Linked DNA regions of Homo sapiens: regions 2, 3, 4 and 5 are each linked to region 1. Evidence: promoter capture Hi-C in 16 types of primary human blood cells and fetal thymus (Javierre and others, 2016). All regions are on one chromosome and are shown on one strand. The core of a region is centred on a gene start or on the middle of the fragment in contact, and the rest is flanking DNA. Distances in the headings are between cores, read along the strand shown. Region 1 holds the start of TRAPPC6A (trafficking protein particle complex subunit 6A). Region 2 holds the start of MYPOP (Myb related transcription factor, partner of profilin). Region 3 holds the start of IRF2BP1 (interferon regulatory factor 2 binding protein 1). Region 4 holds the start of FBXO46 (F-box protein 46). Region 5 holds the start of QPCTL (glutaminyl-peptide cyclotransferase like).

Region 1 (2,787 bases), core at 92-2,591:
CAGTGGCTCACGCCTGTAATCCTAGCACTTTGGGAGGCCAAGATGGGCAGATCACGAGGTCAGAAGATGGAGACCATCCTGGCTAACAGTGAAAACCCGTCTCTACTAAAAAAAATAATAATAATACAAAAAATTAGCCAGGTGTGGTGGCGCCAGCAGCGCTTGTGGTCCCAGCTACTTGGGAGGCTGAGAAGTGGGATGATCGCTTGAGCCCAGGAGGTCGAGGCAGCAGTGAGCCATGACTGCATCACTGCACTCCAGCCAGCCTGGGCGACCGAGCAGGATGCGCGTGCGCGCACACACACACACACACACACACACACAGTCCCGGGCCAGTCACGGTAGTTCACGCCTGTAATCCTAGCACTTTGGGAGGCCCAGGCGGGAGAATCACTTGAGCCTAGGGGTTCAAGACCAGCCTAGGCAACATGGCAAAACCCCATTATCTCTTTTTTTTTTTTCCTGAGACAAGTCTCGCTCTGTCGCCTAGGCTGGAGTGCAATGGCACAATCTTGGCTCACTGCAACCTCCGCCTCCCAGGTTCAAGCCATTCTCCTGTCTCAGCCTCCCGAGTAGCTGGGATTACAGGTACCCGCCATCATGCTCGGCTAATTTTTGTAGACACGGGGTTTCACCATGGCCAGGCTGGTCTTGAACTCCTGACCTCAGGTGATCCGACGGCCTCGGCCTCCCAAAGTGCTGGGAGCTACAGCGCCCAGCCGGCATATTTCATTTTATTATTTGACTCCCCTAGTGAAATGTAAGCTTCACAAGGAAGGGATTCTGTCTTAGAACGGTGCCTGGAATACAACAGACGCTCAATAAGTGGGTGTCGAATAAATAAATGTCCCACGCTGAGGCTTAGGTACGTTATGATACTCATTTTACAAAAGAGAAAACTAGGACACACAAAGATTAAGTCATTGGGTCGCACACCTAGTAAGTGGGGGAGGCGAGTCCTCAGCACACGCCCAATAACAGCATTATTATGATTACTAGCCGCTTACTCAGGCCTTGAGCTAAGTGCTTTACCCTGAATCATCGCGCTCAATTTAGCAATAACCCCGAGCCGGCACCGTCGCGAACGCCACTTTCCAAAGGAGGAAGCCAGGGCCAGACGTTGCCCTGCAAGGCCGGGGCTGGGCCGGGTTCGAACCCGGACGCCTGACGCGCCCTCCGCTCTCCCAGAGGCGTTACCTTGGTGGCCCCCGCTTCCTCCCCACGGAGCCCGGCGCTCACCCCCGGGCCGGGGTCGGGGTCGTGAGCCCACAGCTCAGCCACCATCTCCGTGTGAAGAAACTCAAACAACACAGTATCCGCCATGCCCCCTCCTCGCACGCCTAAAGATGCGCCCAGCGCTTCCAGCTCTCATTGGCCAGGCTTGGTAAGCCACGCCTCTTGCGTCATGGCGCGAGCCCTCCTACTCCGGCTTCCATTGGTGTTTTAGACTAGCCCCGCCTCCCCGCCCCGGACTCAGGTGGTGTGCGCGTGAGCCTGGGACACTAGGGGGCGGGCCTACGCCTTCTCTGGCCACATGTGGCAACATCTTCTGCTCTTACTGCCGTCCCTTCCCTATTTCCGGGTTCTCGAGCATTCCTATTGGCCAAATTACTGGTTACACGTGACATACTCGGCTTTTAAAATCCCTATTGGTCCACTCCAGACTTTCCTCGTCGCACAACCTGGAAGAGCCGGCCCAGCTGTTTCTCTATTGGCGGTTCCTCCATTCATGTGACTCTTCTGCACGCTCACTCAAAGCTGATGCTGAGAACTTGCTTCCTGATTGGTAGCCGGGCGAATCCACGTGACTTGGCCGCTAATGCCCGCCCAACCCGCTCCCCTATTGGTTGAAATCACAGCCCTTCAGCTGCCACGGTGAGAACGCAGCACTCGGGTTAGGAAGCGGATCTCGCAAGCTCCGAGCGTCAGCTGCCGGGTACGGTCTTTGGCGTTAGCGCTTCTCCCATCCCATGAGTGCCCCCAGCAGAGTCCAGTCGGACTGTCATCCTTTCTGCGACTCTGGCGCTGGTCCCGAGCAGCTCACGGGCCCGTGTGCTTCCGGGTCTGAGATTGGCATGGTGGACCAGGTGGAGGGTGTGGCCTCTACTAGGAGGCAAATTCGTAAAGACCTCGGCTTGGGACTCCGGGAACTCGGGCCCCAGATCCTTGTTCGAGCTGGTCTTCAGTTTCCCCATCTGTACGCTGAAGAGCCTGGGGTCCAGTAACCCCCATCATCACCCAGTTTACAGAAGAGGAAACTGAGGCCCAGACGGGGAGCAGCTGACACCAAGTCGTTAAGAGAATCAGCGAAGGGGCTGGGAATCCAGGACCTGCGCCTTTTACCCACCGCGGCGCCGGTCTCACGTGCAGTCCCTTCGCTCTTCTCCCCTAGTTCGGTGCCATGGCGTCCCAGGGTCGTCGGCGGAGGCCCCTGCGGAGGCCGGAGACGGTGGTGCCGGGGGAGGCGACCGAGACGGATTCCGAGCGCTCTGCGTCCTCGTCGGAGGAGGAGGAGCTGTACCTGGGTCCTTCGGGCCCGACGCGCGGCCGCCCCACGGGGCTGCGGGTGGCTGGGGAAGCCGCGGAGACCGACTCGGAGCCGGAGCCGGAGCCGGAACCGACGGCCGCGCCGAGGGACCTGCCTCCACTCGTGGTGCAGCGGGAATCGGCGGAGGAGGCCTGGGGCACGGAGGAGGCCCCGGCGCCCGCCCCCGCGCGCTCGCTCCTGCAACTTCGGCTGGCGGAGAGCCAGGCGCGGCTGGACCACGACGTGGCGGCCGCCGTGAG
Region 2 (2,787 bases), core at 196-2,695, 720 kb after region 1:
TGGGGCGAAGGACAGCATCCACCTCACAGGGCTGCAGCAAGGCTTTGATGAGACATGTAAAAGGCTTGCAACAGCGCAGGCACACAGCCTACTCTGAAGACACTCACCTGCACGTCGGTCCTCCCGGCGGTCTTCCGACAACACGTAGCGCTGAGGGCAGGCGCTTGGGGGCGGCGGCTGTGAAGAGGGGGCCGCAGGGGGCTCCTCCGCCCCAGCACCTGCCCCCGGCGCCGCCACACCTGGCCCCAGGATGGCAAAAATGGTCTCCTCTTCCGCGGAGAAAGCGTCCTCCGCGGCGGGCCCGGCGCCCTGCGTGGAGTGCGGCACGCGAGCGAGCTTCTCCTTGGTGCGGCGCTTGAAGTCGTTCCAGCGCTTCTGCACCTCCTGGCCCGTGCGCTTCCAGCTGGTGATACCGTTGATCTTGGCGGCGATGCCGTCCCACACGCGCCGCCGCTCTGCCACGCTCACCCGACGGCTCTGCGCGCCGTAGAGCTGCGGGTAGTGGGCGCGCACCTCGCGGATCAGGATCTGGTTCTCTTCGAATGAGAAGCGCGGCTTGCGCAACCGGGTGGTTTCCTCCGCTTCGCCCGCCGCCGCCGAGGCCATGGCGCCCCCCGACGCCGCCGTCCTGCCGTCTGGCGCATGGGGGGCGCCGGCGCTGCGGGCAAAGGGCGCACGGGGCTGGCTGGGGTTCGGGGTCCCCCCGCCGCCGCCTCTCCCAGACCGCCGGGCCGAGAGCTCCTTAGTCCCCGGGGGCAGGAGTGGGGGCGGGGGGCGGGCGGGGGCGACGGGCACCCGGGTAAGTCGGAAGCGCCTAAGAGTAGCTGACACCGGCTGAGCGCTTGGCTCGGACTTCGCGCGGCGCGAAGTGCCACGCTGAAGAGTTGATAGAAATTGGGGGAGGGTCTGGAGGGATGGAAGGAAAGGAGGAAAAGTGCGAGGAGAGGAGGTGTCTGCAGGAGTTAGAGAATGGGGGCACGGGAGGATAGGAAATGGAGGGAGGATGGGGGTGCCTCGGGGGGGTCTTAGATGCATGAAGATAAGGAGATGCGGAAGGGGGGATGCAGCAAGAAGGGGGGAATCTGGAGCAGAGGAGGCGCTCTAGGGGCTCTAGGGGGCAACGGGGCGTCTGTAAGACCGATATGAGAAGGGCCCTTAGAGGGATGTCCAGGAATAATGGTGAGGTGGGAGCTCCTGTATCACTGGAAGAGCTGGAACGATCAAATATTAGGGATCAGGGTCTGCGAGGATTGTGGGGGCTCTGGGGATTGCCAGAAATTAAGGGGAGCTCTGGAAATAACGGGGGTCCCGTATCACAAGGAGACAACGGAGGCTACGGGGGACGGCAGGGAGAGCGAAGGTCGCGGAGGGTGGGGACCGAGTCGGGCCACGGGTCACTCACCGGCTCCGCCGCAGCCGCCGGTGGGTCAGGGCTCGGGCTTCTGCGGCCTGTTCCCACCCCCCGCCTCCCTCCCTCCCCTCTTTCGGCCCCGCCTCCGGCCGCCCCGCATGCCAAGGCGCAGGCGCGCCCAGGGCCAGTCGGCCCCAATGCCCTTACCGCCAGGGTTTCATTCCCACCTACCCCAGCACAGCGCAGGCGCAGAACTGCGCTCCGCCGAGCCCCACCAGCAGGCCGCAACTGCGCAGCCGCAACGTTAGCGCCGCGCGGGTACCCCAGCTTCCTGGGGCCACAACGGCGCACGCGCAAAAACTCCATCGCGCGCATGCGCGTGCCTCGGGTTGTACCCGGTACCGGGTCTCGGCGCAGGCGTTGCGAGCTTGGATGGGAGAGATGCTGGGAGCGCGCCAGTACCCAACCTTTCGGACAGTCTTCCAGCCCACCCTGCCCTCTAACCAAAGGGGAGGGAGACAGCGCTGAAGGGAAGCGCTTTGTCTCCTTGACAACTGTGTGGGTGGGGTGGAGGCGTGAGGAAACCGCTTTGCCTCCTGGCTTGCCCGCCCCTGCGCTGGGCCGCTCCAGAGCTTCCCACCTCGCACCCCTAGAGGCTGGGCGTCCTGGGGATGTCCCGCCCCGGGCGGATGCAGTAACCATAGCGACCCACAAGCCTTCCAGTCACGCCTTGGGGGCCCCTCTGTGCGCACCTTTACCTCGAGGAGCGGGGAAAATAAGAGGGAAGAGCTTCCTGGCTGGTAGGAAGGGAGATCCTGACGCCGGCACGACTTTAAGCAAGTGCATGGAGACAGGAATGAAGCCAGAACGCAGGTGGGGTGAGCCGCATGGCAGGATGATGGAGCTCAGTCCGGCTGAGAAGTGTGTTCGTTAGCATCCTGCAGGAGTCCTCAAGGTCATTCGACAATTGGTGCTTCATTCATCGACTCAATAAATATACATGAGCACTTACACAGTTCCTGGTACAATGAACATAAAAGCTAAAATCCGTAGCCTGGGCCGGGCGCGGTGGAGCTCACGCCTGTAATCCCAGCACTTTGGGAAGCCAAGGCGGGCGGATTACCTGAGGTCAGGGGTTCGAGACAAGCCTGGCCAACACAGTGAAACCCCATCTCTACTGAAAATACAAAAACTAGCTGGGCATGGTGGTGCATGCCTGTAATCCCAGCTACTCGGGAGGCTGAGGCACGAGAATCGCTTAACCCCGGGAGGCAGAGGTTGCAGTGAGCTGAGATTGCACCACTGCACTCCACCTGGACGACAGAGTGAGACTCCGTCTCAAAAAAAAAAAAAAAAAAAATACATGCCTGTAGTCCCAGCTACTTGGGAGGCTGAGGCGGGAGGATCGCTTGAGCCCAGGAGTTGCAGGCTGCAGT
Region 3 (2,787 bases), core at 195-2,694, 710 kb after region 1:
CAGGGGCCGGCTCTGGGTACTGCTGGGGCAGGGCCTCCGCGGGAGCTGGCTCGCGGAAGCTGCGGACGCCGTCGGTAAGCAGCTCGCCCAGCTGCCGCCATTCTCCTGATCCATGCCGGCGTTCATATTCGAGGTACTTGAAGCCCGAAGAAGCCAGTGCCTTGCCCGGCTCCCGCAGAGCATCGTGGAACATCTGGCGAGCCACTGCCAGGACGCCGGCGTACACATTGCCGGAACCACAGGGGTATTCGGTGAAGAGCTTCAGCTCGAACTCGTATCCTGGAGGACGGGCAGTAGCATCGAAGGCGAACACTCGCCCCACCAGCCCGTGATCCTTCTTGAAGCGCACATTGAACGGGGCGCAGGCGGACAGCGCCAGTAGCTGTTCCCGCACTGCTTTGGGGCGCCCGTGCCATTCCTCTGCCCGGCCTCGCATGGCCTCGTTCAGTTCTGCCAGACAGTCCGCATTCCTCTGCTGCTTCTCTTTCTCGAAATCGGAGCCGAAGAGGGGACGGGCAGGACTCAAGCCGGGTGCCAGCGTCAGGCCTCGGCTTCCCAGGCCAGACACTGCAGCTGCCAGCAGCCCAGGGGGCATCAAGCCAGGCATGGAGCCAAGCAAGGCCCTTCGCGCCCCCTCAGCCACGGCCTCCTCACGGCCCAGCCCATTGGCCAGGCGGGACCCCAGAGTGTACTCCAGGGCGGGCGAGGGCAGGGGGAGGCGGCCTGATGATGTGGCCCTGTCATAGCGGTCCTGGCCCGACACGCCGCCGCCGGTCCCTGACGGCTGGGGCTGGGCCTGCGGGGGCGGCAGCTGGGGCCCCTGTGCGGCTGCCGCCGCCAGGTCCTTGGTGGCCGGGTGCTTAAGGGCCGGGGGCCCGGGCGAGCGGCCCTCGGGGAGCACGTGGCTGCGCTTGAGCTGGCGGGCGGCATCGATGAGCAGTTCGATGCGGTCCGCGCCCTCGAAGTTCACGCAGCCGCGACACACGGCCTCGCTGAAGTCCCACACCATGGCCCACGGCATCTTGGGCAGGTCGCACAGGTAGCACCACTGGCGGCGGGACGCCTGCACAGACGCCATGGCCCCAGTCCGCGCGCCGCCCAGCTCCCGCGTTCCACCGGCCGCCGACGTGCGATCCGCGCCGCCAACGTTCGATCCGCGTCCCGGGGACAGCGCGAGCCACGGTCCGGCCTCCGGCTCGGCCTCCCCGCCGGATCCAGGCCCGGCCCCCCTTCCCCGCCCCCTGGGCCCTAAGCCTTTCTGCTCACTCCCGCCTCCCTCGCGAAGGCAGGCTGAGGCACGTCGGCGCCCCCGCCCGGTCCGGGCTCCGAGCCGAGGCGCACAGCTCGGGCCCCACGATGGGCCGCGAGCGCCGCCGCCTCGGGCTCCCGCCGCTCTCGCCGCCGCCGCTGCAACGGCCGCCGCCGCCTCCACCTCCTTCTTCTGCCCCAGAGGCCGCTTCGCAGGGAAAGTTACATAACACGCCTGCAAAGCCTTCTGGGAAACGTAGTCCCGCCGGGGCCGGCTCTTAAAGGGAACGGCGGGCAGACGCGGGCTGGGGGGGTTGTCGCCTCTGCCGGCGCAAACCTTACAACCTTCTCCGTGGGGCCGGAGTTCAGCGCGCCGCAAGATGCTGGGACACAAAGGTGGTAGGCGAGGATGCAATACAAATGATCAGAGCTACTCCGGATTCAGAAATTGTGGGGGTGGGTGGACAGGCTTCCGGGCTTCCAACTTCTGCTCGGATTTGCTGTGCAGCTTTAGGCAAAATGTCTTGCCCTCTCTGAACCTCAGTTTCCCCGCCCAGCAAAGGTGGGCCAATGACGGATTAGGAAAGTAGCAGCTTCTGGGGCGGGGCGGAGAAGCCCTGATTGGCTTCAGAGCAGGGACGGGAAGCTGGCAACTAGGTGGGGGTGGGGGTGGCCACCTGGCACTTCGTCCTCCCCCCGGAATCCTAGATATATGCTTCTGGGGCCCGCCACAGCCAGAGAAGGGAGAGGACTAAGGGCTTCCGAGCCAGAGCCTTGTCTCAGTTGTTTCTCTGCTAAAAGAGTGGGGCGACTGGCCGCCCTCTAACCCTGTCCCAGCTCTGCCCGCGCGCTCTGGTCTCTAAAGGGTTACACCATCGGGGGCTCGGCGTCCCCCACCCGCTTCACTACAATTCCCAAAATGCACTGCGGGTCGGACATAGTGACGCACTTCCGCCCTCTGGGAGGTTTGGGGAGGCCTTCCAGATTCACGCTACTTTCCCGGCTACCCCCCGCCCCCCCACTTTTCTGGGGGCTCTTTACGTGCATTCGGAGCGTGGCGTTTGGGGGACCCTTATCTTCTGTTGCTCCCCAGTTTGAGGGAAGAGTAAGGGGTTAAGAAGTGACGGGCAAGAGGAGGGAGTTGCTGGGGAAGGGCAAACACCAGACCAACCTTTCCCCAACCTTGAGCGCTCACTACCTGGAAGGCCCAATCAGGCTGTGAGGACCCTTCTTCTTTCCCAGGCATTGGGAACTGGACGAGGCTGTCTTTGGGGAAGGGCGGAGGCGGGTCTCCAGGTTCCAACCCACAACAGCCCCTTTCTCTAGGCCTGGGTCCGTGTTAGGTGCTCAAAAATATTTGAATGACGTACCAGTTGGCCCTGGTTTTGTCTAGTGAGGGGCTGCTTGTCCCTTCTCCTCCCGTCCCACTGGAACCGCAGCAGCTCTGATTCTGTTACCCAGACCTCACAATTTTAAAATGGTTTCACAATTTTGTCTACTACCTGTATTTGAACACTTTTCTCCCTTAAAAAAAAGATT
Region 4 (2,787 bases), core at 167-2,666, 550 kb after region 1:
GGCAGAACTAATATTCTAGACTGCTTTGTTCGCTGTCTCTACTCATCACATTGTATATTTCAGTATGGAGAGAGGACTAAATTATAGTGCTGAAAGCACAGATTCTGAGCCAGGCTGCCAAGATCGGAATCCTGAGTCTAGCAATTAATGCTGGATAGCCTTGGGAAAGTTGCTTAATTTCTCTGTACTTCTGCTTCCTTTCTGTAAAATGGAGAAAATAACAGCACCTACCCCTCAGGGGTGTTATCAGAATTAAATGAGTTAATGTGTACAAACAGCTAAGGACAGGGCCAGGCATTTTGTAAAACAATAAGCGTTAGCTGTAATCCACAGTGGGGAGCCCCTACATGCTTCTGAGCTGGGGTGTGTGCCCAGATCAGTGCCAGCTTTTGAGAAAACGCCTCTGGGACTGGACTGGAAAGGAGGAAATCCATTAGCACCTGTAACCCAGTCACATTCCGGGGGCGGAGAACTTCCCACCAACAGCTCTGAGACTGAAACTTCACAGCCCAGCTCTCCCACTAATAGTAACGATTTTAATGACTCCCTTTAACCCTGTTCTCAGAGGCATGCTTGCTGTTCCCATACTACAGATAAGGGCACTGAGGCTCACAGATTTGTCCATGGCACAAAGGGGTGGAAGAATAGGGGATATGAATGCTGTACTTCTCATAGGGATAAACCATTACACTCTTCTAAATTCCACCGGGGAAGTGAGGGTGCGAAAGCCTGTCTCGATGGCCCTTTCTGGCCGTATTATCCTACAGTTCTGTGCCTGTCCAGCTTACCGGGAGTCTCTGGCGGGACTAGGGAAATTATCACTACATCCAGGCCCCTAATTTCACGCTCCTTACCCCACCCTCAGTCCTGGAGCCTAAACCCACACTCTATCCTACCACTGATTTCTCCCTCCTACCTCCTCAACTTGCCTTCCTGCCCCCAATCCGATCCAGAGGCCCCAACCCATTGCGTCCACCGTTCGCCTGTCCCTTGGAGCTTCCAGACCCCCTCACTCATCCTAACCCTGATCCTCATACCCTCGCCGCAGGTTAAGCCCCCATCGAAATCGACCCCTTCAGGGCCTCTACCTGGATGTCCAGCCCAGTCTCCAACTCGGGGCCCACTTCCCCAGCTCTGAGCCCCTTTACAATCAATTCCAAAGCTCCACTCCCACCCCACCTCCAAGACCCCTCCCCAAGCCACCATTCTTCTACTACTACCTCCGGCTCCCATTCCTCCCAGTCCTCTCCCCCAGGCAATCTCCCCTCACCCAGCCCCTTCTTTCGCCCCTGCCTCTTCCCCCTCGTCACCCGGTCCCGAACCCCCGTCCCGACTCTCCAGCGCCCCCGGCCCGCGCCTGGGCTCTCACCATCGCCGCGCGCTGCATCTCCCTCGGCTACGCGGGTTTCCCCCACTCGCTCCTCTCCAGCCTCCCCTTCCGGGTTCTCGTCCCGAAGCCCGCTGGGAATTGAAGTCCGGGCAGCCACGGACTACATCCCCCAGAAGGCAGCACGGTCAAGCTTGGAGGTGGGGTAGGAAGCAAATTAGGCGGGCGGAGGAAAAGAACGACTCGAACTCCCGGGAGACAAAGCCGGGGAGGACTTGGCAGCGCAAGCGCAGGGTGCTTCCCCGCTGGGCGCGCTGGGAGATGGAGTCTAGCCAGGAGGGCTCCATTTTTGCCCGAGGCCCTTGGGAAGGGAATTGAGAATATTGCAATAGGGTGTTGGTGAGGGGTGGAGAGTTGGGGAAGAGCAAATTTATTGATTCATTTGTGCCGATCAACACAATAGCTAACAGCTCCTTGTGCTTTTCCAAACTCCTTCCCATCCATCCCCTTCTTTTTTTTTTTTTTTTTGAGACGGAGTCTTGCTCTGTCACCCAGGCTGGAGTGCAGTGGCGCAATTTCGGCTCACTGCAACCTCCGCCTCCTGGGTTCAAGCGATTCTCCTGCCTGAGCCTCCTGAGTAGCTGGGATTACAGGAGCCCGCCACCACGCCCGGCTAGTTTTTGTATTTTTAGTAAAAACGGAGTTTCACCATGTTGGTCAGGCTGGTCTTGAACTCCTGACCTCATGATCCACCCGCCTCGGCCTCCCAAAGTGCTGGGATTACAGGCGTGAGCCACCGCGCCCGGCCCGTCCCCTCCTTTCTTACCTCCTGATTTACAAATGAGAAAATTAAGCCTTAGGAGGAAGGAAAGTCCCATACATTAGGAGTTAGTCCACATCATAGAATAGCAGCTCCACATCGCTCGAGCCCAGGAGTTCGAGGCAGTGAGCTAGTGTTACACCACCGCCCTCCATGCAGTTCAGCCTGGGCGACAGAATGAGACCCTGCTGCCTCTTAAAATAAAAGAAGGCCGGGCGCGGTGGCTCACGCCTGTAGTCACAGCACTTTGGGAGGCCGAGGCGGGCTGATCACAAGGTCAGGAGATCAAGACCATCCTGGCTAACACACTGAAACCCCATCTCTACTAAAAATACAAAAAATTAGCCGGGCTGGGTGGCGGGTGCCTGTAGTCCCAGCTACTCGGGAGGCTAAGGCAAGAGAATGGCGTGAACCCAGGAGGCGGAGCTTGCAGTGAGCCGAGATCGCGCCACTGCACTCCAGCCTGGGGGACAGAGCGAGATTCCGTCTCAAAAAAAAAAAAAAGAAGAAGAAGAAGAAGAAGCTCCAGGAGGGCAGAGATCTTTGTGTACCTTGTTCAAGCACCTAGAACAGCGTAAACATGTGTTCAGTAAATATTTATTGCATCGGAACTATATGCCAGACACCCTACAGACAACCC
Region 5 (2,787 bases), core at 1-2,500, 510 kb after region 1:
GCCACCGCGCTCGGCCTCCCCCAGTATTCGTAAAATCGCTGCCCCTTAACATTCATTTCAATAGGACTAATTATCTAGGACCACTCCCGTTATCGTTTAAAACATGTTTTTCATAATTAAATTTTTTTTTTTTTTTGTAGAGACGGGGGTCTCGCTATGTTGCCTAGGCTAGTCTCGAACTCCTGTGTTCCAGCGATGCTCCGCCTTGGCCTACTAAAGTGCTGGGATCACAGGAATGAGCCCCCGCGCCCAGCCCAGGGCGTTATCTGATAAAGCTGTCCCCTCTCCCGAAGTCACGATGCGTCAAAGGCCCCACGCCCGTTCTCAAACTCATCAGGAGAAAAGCAGGACGCTGCATCCCTAAAACATCTGCCCCTGCCCCCCCCGCTCTGCTCAACCCTTCCCACACTCAATCGGTCAAATATCCACCCTCAACCTCATTCCCGCCGCCTAAGCCTAGCCCGGCCTCACATGATGGTCACTACGCTCTCCGTTCACTCCCGTTTCCTCCGCGTTGCTGCTGCCTGAGGAGAGAGAGGCGGGACTTCCTCTTCCTGCGACCCACTTCCGTTGGCGCCTGCGCAAAGCCAACCAGTAAGTGGAGGCGTGGCCTGTTGCCACAGCATTCCCCACCAACGGTGCACAATGATGGAATAAAAGCTTCGGGTAGGGGTTCGCGGCCAGTCAGAACCACACGGGGGCAGATGTTTATGACAATGAAGACAAAAGGAAAGGCAGTCTGATTCAAACCGTTTCTTGAAGAATGGTACAGGTTGAAGGAGGGAAATGACAAGCTATTTCCAAATGCCCGCCGGCCGTGACTTCGGGGGCGCGGCCTCCGTGAAGCCAATCCGCTCCTCGCTTCGGAGACAGGCACCGCCCCTCTTCCCTCTGGGACGCGTTACTGACGTATCTACTGATCTTTCCGACCCTGCGCCACCAATCCCCTGCCTACATCCGGAAGGGGCATGGACCTGCGCCCGGGAGATCGAATATTTTCCATGATCAAACGCTGTTCATTGGCTTTCCCTCCTCCGCTAAGGCGGAGCCTACTTCTCTTGCGCTCCCATTTGGGTCGTGCCATTCTCAGGGGAACCAACCCCAATACCTAAGGGAGGCTGGGAGGCGTGTCCTCAGGACCGTAGTTCTTATTGGTTTCGCTGCTCGCTGTGGGGTGGGCTGGTGCAGCCGCAGCTGTTGCTTATTGGCCCACCGATTCCATGGGGAGGAACTTGGCTGGGCCTAAACTCAATCCGTGGTCTGGTACAGGTTTCAGGGCAAAGCGGCCATGCGTTCCGGGGGCCGCGGGCGACCCCGCCTGCGGCTGGGGGAACGTGGCCTCATGGAGCCACTCTTGCCGCCGAAGCGCCGCCTGCTACCGCGGGTTCGGCTCTTGCCTCTGTTGCTGGCGCTGGCCGTGGGCTCGGCGTTCTACACCATTTGGAGCGGCTGGCACCGCAGGACTGAGGAGCTGCCGCTGGGCCGGGAGCTGCGGGTGAGGCTGGGCGGGGACCCGGGCACCGCGGGGACCCTCATTCCCTCCCCGCTGTTACCCAGGGTTGACGTGGCTTTAGCGTACGGCCCTAACCGCAGATGCCACCGTCTTCGTCATCTGAGCGCATGACCCTTACCAAAGGAATAAGGCTTCGGGCTGGTTCTGCAACAGTAGCTTCCTTTTAAGAGGAAAGGTCTGAAATAGTAAGACGGGGGGGTTCAGGGTTCTACGCCTTTAGTCAACTATTTGGAAGAGTCCCTTCCTCCATCTCCCCTCTCTCTCACTGGGCCTCGATTTCCCCATCAAGTTTGAGGTAGGCTGGACCGGATGGTCTTGGAAGGACTTTTCCTGAGCCTTGGATTTATCCTAGAAGTCTCCGATGCTGGAGGCGGCAGATTAGGAAGAGAACCCGGGGCTCCTCGCGGGTGACGGCGCCCGGGGTAGGGTTGAAATGGGGGGGTTGCTCTCATTCTTCCCTTCCCTATCCCACCTCCTTCCCAAGGTCCCATTGATCGGAAGCCTCCCCGAAGCCCGGCTGCGGAGGGTGGTGGGACAACTGGATCCACAGCGTCTCTGGAGCACTTATCTGCGCCCCCTGCTGGTTGTGCGAACCCCGGGCAGCCCGGGAAATCTCCAAGTCAGAAAGGTAAAGGGACCCACCTCCAGTCCCTGACCCCCTAGCCCTCCAGGGAATGGGAAATAAGAATCCTGTTCAAGATCCCAAAGAAGCTAAGAGGAGGAACTGGGGCTCTGACTGGAGTTAATCGGACTCTAGACTCCATGCTGGTAACAAACCACCAGGCTGTACTGCCCCCCTTAATGCCCCCACCAAAAGCTTACTGTGTGCTAGGCATAGGCAACAGACAGCCCTATAAGGTGGGTACCAATATGATCTTCATTATGCAGATGGGGAAACTGAGGCTCAGAGAGGTTATACACATTGCACAAATCCTACAGATAATAAGTAGTAGACCTTAGCCGGGTGCAGTGGCTCATGCCTGTAATCCCAGCACTTTGGGAAGCCAAGGTGGAAGAATCACCTGAGAAGTTTGAGACTAGCCTAGTCAACCTAGTGAGACCCAATGTTTAGAAAATCATAGACCTAGAGTTGAACCCAAACAGGTTGGCTCCGAGCTGGTGCTGTAATGTATCTGTTGTCTTCCAGAAAGCATGAAGAGTCATTTAAAGGCCAGGCGCAGTGGTTCACACCTCTAATCCCAGCACTTTGGGAGGCCGAGACAGGCAGATCCCTCGAGATCAGGAGTTTGAGACCAGCCTGGCCAACATGGTGA

What was found. The method cuts DNA at HindIII sites, captures the fragments that hold promoters and counts their contacts. A CHiCAGO score of 5 or more calls a contact.
Region 2: the fragment with the promoter of MYPOP here is called in contact with the fragment with the promoter of TRAPPC6A in region 1 in 1 of 17 cell types (naive CD8 T cells); the score reaches 5.6 in naive CD8 T cells.
Region 3: the fragment with the promoter of IRF2BP1 here is called in contact with the fragment with the promoter of TRAPPC6A in region 1 in 1 of 17 cell types (naive CD4 T cells); the score reaches 7.0 in naive CD4 T cells.
Region 4: the fragment with the promoter of FBXO46 here is called in contact with the fragment with the promoter of TRAPPC6A in region 1 in 1 of 17 cell types (non-activated CD4 T cells); the score reaches 6.1 in non-activated CD4 T cells.
Region 5: a contact is called between the fragment with the promoter of QPCTL here and the fragment with the promoter of TRAPPC6A in region 1, in 1 of 17 cell types (monocytes). The highest score is 5.9, in monocytes.

What each region holds. Positions count from the first base shown.
Region 1 is chr19:45,176,896-45,179,682 of GRCh38, forward strand. TRAPPC6A (trafficking protein particle complex subunit 6A) reads right to left here and starts at 1,342. Exons shown (of 6, transcript NM_001270891.2): 1 at 1,240-1,342. The coding sequence starts at 1,323. It overlaps BLOC1S3 (biogenesis of lysosomal organelles complex 1 subunit 3), which reads left to right and starts at 1,889. Exons shown (of 2, transcript NM_212550.5): 1 at 1,889-1,936; 2 at 2,393-2,787. The coding sequence starts at 2,402. RefSeq lists enhancers at 720-1,663, 1,676-1,745, 1,816-2,135, 2,676-2,787 and silencers at 1,096-1,315, 2,486-2,787. The HindIII fragment of the contact is 3,392 bases long and covers 764-2,787 here.
Region 2 is chr19:45,901,168-45,903,954 of GRCh38, forward strand. MYPOP (Myb related transcription factor, partner of profilin) reads right to left here and starts at 1,446. Exons shown (of 3, transcript NM_001012643.4): 1 at 1,403-1,446; 2 at 108-658. The coding sequence starts at 606. RefSeq lists enhancers at 1,209-1,258, 1,689-1,798 and silencers at 1,449-1,498, 2,059-2,138. The HindIII fragment of the contact is 7,646 bases long and covers 1-2,787 here.
Region 3 is chr19:45,884,697-45,887,483 of GRCh38, forward strand. It overlaps IRF2BP1 (interferon regulatory factor 2 binding protein 1), which reads right to left and starts at 1,445. Exons shown (of 1, transcript NM_015649.3): 1 at 1-1,445. The coding sequence starts at 1,078. RefSeq lists silencers at 700-939, 980-1,459 and enhancers at 1,620-1,769, 1,920-2,159, 2,220-2,269. The HindIII fragment of the contact is 4,343 bases long and covers 1-2,787 here.
Region 4 is chr19:45,729,480-45,732,266 of GRCh38, forward strand. FBXO46 (F-box protein 46) reads right to left here and starts at 1,417. Exons shown (of 2, transcript NM_001080469.2): 1 at 1,370-1,417. RefSeq lists a silencer at 272-566 and enhancers at 1,415-1,524, 1,615-1,744. The HindIII fragment of the contact is 3,315 bases long and covers 1-1,518 here.
Region 5 is chr19:45,691,416-45,694,202 of GRCh38, forward strand. It overlaps QPCTL (glutaminyl-peptide cyclotransferase like), which reads left to right and starts at 1,251. Exons shown (of 7, transcript NM_017659.4): 1 at 1,251-1,495; 2 at 1,998-2,141. The coding sequence starts at 1,289. SNRPD2 (small nuclear ribonucleoprotein D2 polypeptide) reads right to left here and starts at 538. Exons shown (of 3, transcript NM_001384647.1): 1 at 472-538. The coding sequence starts at 473. RefSeq lists enhancers at 74-794, 613-742, 753-882, 1,408-1,958. The HindIII fragment of the contact is 1,670 bases long and covers 659-2,328 here.